Linked DNA regions of Homo sapiens: region 1 is linked to region 2. Evidence: promoter capture Hi-C in 16 types of primary human blood cells and fetal thymus (Javierre and others, 2016). All regions are on one chromosome and are shown on one strand. Each heading gives the region's core, a stretch centred on a gene start or on the middle of the fragment in contact. The rest is flanking DNA. Distances are from core to core; before and after follow the strand shown. Region 1 has its middle 8.5 kb from the start of PDIK1L. Region 2 holds the start of CRYBG2 (crystallin beta-gamma domain containing 2).

Evidence for each region. Contacts are between HindIII fragments. The CHiCAGO score rates a contact against its expected background, and 5 or more counts as called.
Region 1: a fragment that was not itself captured here is called in contact with the fragment with the promoter of CRYBG2 in region 2 in 1 of 17 cell types (endothelial precursors); the score reaches 5.1 in endothelial precursors.

The regions. Positions count from the first base shown.
Region 1 is chr1:26,101,945-26,104,745 of GRCh38, reverse strand. No RefSeq gene overlaps it. Among named protein-coding and RNA genes, the nearest start is that of PDIK1L, 8.5 kb to the left of the region's middle. The HindIII fragment of the contact is 872 bases long and covers 927-1,798 here.
Region 2 is chr1:26,352,596-26,355,577 of GRCh38, reverse strand. CRYBG2 (crystallin beta-gamma domain containing 2) reads left to right here and starts at 1,448. Exons shown (of 20, transcript NM_001039775.4): 1 at 1,448-1,542. The HindIII fragment of the contact is 7,544 bases long and covers 1-2,982 here.

The DNA of each region.
Region 1 (2,801 bases), core at 113-2,612, 250 kb after region 2:
ATCGGTAATATAAATAAATAATAGGTAATATTCATACTAACTTCTGTGCGAGGCACTGTGCAAAGTACTGTTTATAGAGTGATCTCATCTAATCTGCACAGTGACCCTGTAAAGCATGTGCTATTATTGTCCTCCCTTTTACAACTGAGGAAACAAAGGTTCTAAGAGGTGAAAGAACTTGTCCAAAGTCACACAGGCACTTCAATTGGGGTCTAACTGCGTGTGTGTGTGTGTGTGTGTGTGTGTGTGTGTGTGTGTGTTTGAGATGGAGTCTCGCTCTGTCCCCCAGGCTGGAGTGCAGTGGCACAATCTTGGCTTACTGCAACCTCCGCCTCCTGGGTTCAAGCGATTCTCCCACCTCAGCCCCCTGAGTAGCTGGAATTACAGGCGCCCGAGTAGCTGGAATACAGGCGCATGCCACCACTCCTGGCTCATTTTTGTATTTTTAGTAGAGATGGGGTTTCACCATGTTGGCCAGGCTAGCCTTGAACCCCTGGCTTTAAGTGATCTGCCCGCCTTGGCCTCCCAAAGTGCTGGGATTTCAGGCATGAGCCACCATGCCCGGTTGTGTGTGTGTGTGTTTTAAAAGACTTTATTTTTAGAGAAGTTTTAGGTTCACAGTGAAGTTGAGTGGAAATTACAGACTTCCCATATACACCCTGTCCCCAAGGCACATCTTGGAGTCTTTCTTCCCACCAGATTGCTGACCCTGAATTTCTCCTCTGGAGAAATTATGAGAGGCATCATTGATGCATTGTTAGAGACCTAGTACCCACTGAGCCAACCACAAGTTGTTATCAAAATGCCACAATGAGGTCATTAAGGGCGACTGGCTAGGCCTGTCAGTGAATGTTTCCGGAGCAGCTCCTAACTGCTGTAGCAGAGAGAATCCCCGACAGTGTCCCCTCCCTTCTTCTTCCCAAGCTTGGGGAGCCCCAGCCCCATTTCTTTTCTTTTCTTTTCTTTTTTTTTTTTTTTTTTGAGATGGAGTCTTGCTCTGTTGCCTAGGCTCGAGTGCAATGGCACAATCTTGGCTCACTGCAACCTCTGCCTCCTGGGTTCAAGCGATTCTCCTGCCTGAGCCTCCTGCGTAGCTAGGATCATAGGCATGCGCCACCATGCCTGGCTAATTTTTGTATTTTTGATAGAGATGGGGTTTTGCCATATTGGCCAGGCTGGTCTCGAACTCCTGACCTCAGGTGATCCACCCACCTCGGCCTCCCAAAGTGTTGGGATTATAGGCGTGAGCCACTGTGCCCAGCCACCCCAGCCCCATTTCTGCAGGGGGAGGCTGAGGGAGAAACTCCTTTAGGAAGGGTATTAGCTTTGGCACTAACACGCTGTGTCATCTTGAGCAAGAAAGACTCCCCCCTGCTGTGGGCCTCAGTCTCCCCATCTGCAAAATGAGGGGGTCTGACCAGCTCATCTCTAAGGATCCTTATAGCTCCAACACTCTGATTCTTGAATCCTACACCTCCACTATGCTTGTAATAAGAAGATCAAAATGTTTATTTCTGATCCAGCCCCTGAGACAAGTGATCTGGGGGCCCACAAAGGTCTTGCACCAGGTATAACATTAGCTGTTTTTGTCTTTGGATGGGTCCTAGTTGTCTTCTTGGTGAGGACTGAGAACAGCTGGAGCAGCTGATGGTTAAGACCCAGGTTCACATCTCCTGCCCCTGGGTCCAAGAGCTGCTGGGGATGCCACCATCTGAAAACCATGCTGGATGGGGGTGTTGGGAGTGTCCCAAACTGAGGATTCACCCGACTCCTCAGCAGGTCCTGAAGTGTTAAAGCTTCGGCTTCCTCTGATTCTCTGGCCTCTTCTGGATGCTTCATGTTGCAAGAGCAGAAACTCAACTCAAAGTGACTGAAAGGAATGATTGGTACATTTACCTAAGAGAAATGGAGGTGGGAGGGCTAGCTTCGGGAAGGAAGTTTGATTCAGCAGCTCACATGTCACCAAAGACTCTAGTTTCCTCTGTTCTGCCTCCCATGATGCTGCCTTCATCTTAAGGCTGGCTTCCCTTGTGGGCCTCGGGGTCACCAGTGGGAATTCAGCCTTATGAGATCATATCCTGCAGGAATGAGAAAGTCAACTTCTCTATTCCTCAAACAACATTCCTGAAATTAAGTCTTGTTGGACCTGATTGGCTAGGGGCTAGGGAGTAGGGGGTAAGAGATAGGGTTGTGGGCCCCTCCTTGACCAAGCTCTGTGTCCTGAAGGATGGGGCTTACTGGCAGGCTTAAATTCAGAGGCTGGTGGGTGGCTAACAAATGTCTTGACATATACCCCTCTCTTCAGAAGTCAACTAGTGCCTGGCACATGGTGGCACTTTGTTCGTTAAGTCAACAGCTATTTGGTGAATATCCACCACGTGCAAGAAATTGTGCTTGATGCTGAGAAAAAGCAGTGAACAGAAAGATAAGGTCCCTGCCCTCATGGACTTTCTCTGGGAGGGGAGACAGACATATAAATATGCAGACAGTACAATTCAACCAGTGCCAGCTGAGGTTACATAGCCCAGGGGAGGAAATCCAAACTGTGCTTCTGTGGAGGGGAATGGCGGGCAGGAAAGCTTTAGAGAGGAGGTAGCATTTACACTGGGCCTTAAATTTAGCCATTCCACAATGTATTCATATTTCAAAGCATCATGTTGTACATATGAGTAAATAAATACAATTTTTGTCAATTTAAAAAATAAATAGAAATTTGAGGGTCAGAGTGAGACACTCCTTTAAGCTGACATTCTTCAAATATTTGCTCTATGGTTATTTAGAGCAGGGGCTGGGAAGGAGGC
Region 2 (2,982 bases), core at 199-2,698:
ATTAAGGCATTTGGCAGCAAGGATCCCTGCTAGGCGGAATTTTGACCTCCTCTGTTGCCAAGGAAACAGCCCATCTTTTAAAACGGGTCGTTTTGGGGGCAGTGTCCATCTGGGTCTGGGGTGCTGAGCCCTCTCCTCTTATCCCCACAGCCAGGCTGGACCCCAGGGGAAGACAGCAGAAGAGGTCAGGTGTTGTCCCATTTCAGGGGAACCCTCTTCTCTGGCTCCCTTATATCCCAGGTACATCCTCCCAGGTGTTCTGTCTCAAGCTGGGAGGGTACAAGAGAGGTGGCCGCAGTCTCTCTGTTAGCTTGGAATGGGCAGAGGCCATGGGCACTTGAGGCAGGCCTTCCCACCCAGCCCTCAGCCCCAGGGCGGGGAAGCACCTCAGGACTGCAAGGAAGCTGAGATCTCCAGCCTTTGGGGGGCATGGCCGGCCAGGCCCTGGGTGCCTTGTCACCTGGGAGGGAGTGCGGCACCTGAGCGTTGGGAGCCCTCGCTGGCTTGCTGTGTGATCTCAGTCATGTCGCCGTCTTCTTTGGGCCCCACTTTCCTCTTACGTAGAATGGGAAGGGGTGAGTTAAATGCTGAAGGGCCTTCCCAGAGCTCTGTCCCTTTGTCCAGCTCTGGTGGCCTTAGCAGCCTCTCCCTAGGGCAGCTTACCTTGGTGTCAGAGCCCTGTTCAGCTTCCTTGTGACAGGGAAGATACCAGGTACCAGGGGTGCCTGGAGGGCAGGGGGAGCTGTCACTATGCCCCTGCCTCTCTCAGTGTCTATCTCTGTTTTCACCCAGGCCCAAGGCCAGAGCTGCTCAGAATGGGACATCCATGTAGGGGACCATGATGATTTCTGGATTTGGAAGCAACAAGGAATCTCGGGGGGTCCTGCTCAGTCCCTGGGGCGCCTACAGAGGCCAGCGGTGGGCAGCGCCTTCGACCTGGCCAGCCATGCCTCCCTGGGGCCTGAGAGCCTGGCCCTGGAAGTGGCCTCAGGAGAGTCTGCTCGTACCAGGCTCCCCCAATACCCAGGGCCTGCTCCTGGACATGGGGAGCAGGGATCCTCAGGCTGCACCTGTCAGCAGTCTCCACCCACAGCTTCAGAGGTCCCTCTGAGGCCTGAGCCACCCAGCAACCTGGAAGACGCACCCCTGCTGCTCCACCCTGCATCCTTCCCCAGGGCAGAGGGGACAAAGGGCAAGCCCGCCACCCCAGGGACTGCCTTGCCAGAGCCTGCCCAGACCCTACACACGCGTCCCTCTTCCAGGAGGACCCGCTACTACATCACTGTCACCCTGCTGGGGCACAGGCAAGCACCAGGGGAGGAGGGTGAAGAACCGGCCCAACCAGCTCCACACCTCTGCGGCCCTGAGGAATCTGAGGGCTGGTGGGAGCCTCCCCAGGGGCCACGCCCCATCACAGGGTGCCGGACGGCCCCGCCTCAGGAACCCCAGCTGAGAGCCCAATCGCATCAGGGGAGCACGGCCCAGCAGCAGGAGCTCCAGGCTGGCTGGACACCTGGGTCCCCACGCAGACTGTGAGTAGAGGTCGGTCTGTGTGTGGAGATGGGAGGGGAGACTGGCCTGGCTGCCCTGTCTTGAGACTTTGCCTATTCCCTGGGCCTCTCCAGCTCTAGGCCCATTCATTCAGGACCCTGAGCCGACTCTGCCTTCCCTCCCTGCTCCAACCCTGCCTTCCTCTCCCTCCCTTTGCCCACAGGCTACCTCCTGGAACCCACTGCTTCTCACCCCCACTGTCCATCTGAGAAAGGGGAAAGTCTGTCAGGGAGAGGATGGGCAGGAAGGGGGGTTGCCTTCTTCACAGCATACACCACTCCCCAGTTCTGTTCAGGAGGCCACAGACTCAGCCTGGGAATTGGCACCCAGCCTAGGTGCTGGGTGTCCTGAGGCGAGTTGCTTAACCTCTCTGGGCCTTGAGTTGTTGAGAGGATTTGGTAGCTGAAAATGAGGAAGGAGGAGGTGGCTACAGGAATATACTTTGAACTCCAGAGACTGGGGGTGCCAAAATAGCAGGGATGCTTATTAATTACGTCTCAGTGACAGCAATAATTACCCCACCTGGCTCTGAGCTGGAAGCCAAAGGAGTGGGTGTCGAGTTTCCCAAGCCTAGTTTTATTTGTGTTGAAATGACTCTCCTAAATCTGCCTGGGGGGCGCAGAGGTGGAAGGATATGTCCCCCAAAGCTCATCAAGGAGGGATGAACATGGAACCTCCCAGGGATGACCCTGAAGAGGAAATGAGCCTGGGGTGGGGTTTTGAAGGGTGCTTAAGGATGATGGGGTGGCTGTCATTTGCAATTTGTTTTCTAAGCATAATTTTATTTAATCTTCCCAACCATCCCATGAGTAGGGACTGATCCCAACCCCTGTCACCTAATTCTAGGAGGCTCTGAAAGTCACTTGCTCAAAGTCAACTAGAAAGTGAAGGGGCTAGAATCTGAACTTAGGTTTCTATAACTCCAGTGCCTGTGCTCTAACCACTGCTCCATCCTGCCTGGAAGAAACCTCTTTGGCCCTGTGCAGAGAGTGGAGGGTTGAGTGAGGTTGCTGTGTGGGCTCCAGGGTTTTCTAGGCTCCTATGGCGGTGGATTGGGCAGCATTGTAGTAGCAGAGGCAGAATCAGGAATGCTGGGGTCCTCCAAGCAGGGGTCAATGTGACTGCTTCCGTGCCAAGGAAGAGGGAGATGTAGGACCCAGGCTGGCTCTGAGACCTGCTTGGATGCCCCAGAAGTCAGGGGCTGGGGGACAAGGGCTGCAGAGAGAGGGAAGGGGGGTGGAGGAGGCTACCTTGGAGAGGGGGACGGGAAAGAGAAGTAGGGTTAGCTGGGGGGAGGTGGTTTCTATCTGCCACTACCTGGGTATTTTGGGCCCAGGTGGATAATGACAGACTCAGGTGGGAGGCTAGGGCTCACTTAGAGTGGGGGGCAGGTGACCTCCAGAAACATCATCCTTCTATGTCCCCTTCCTG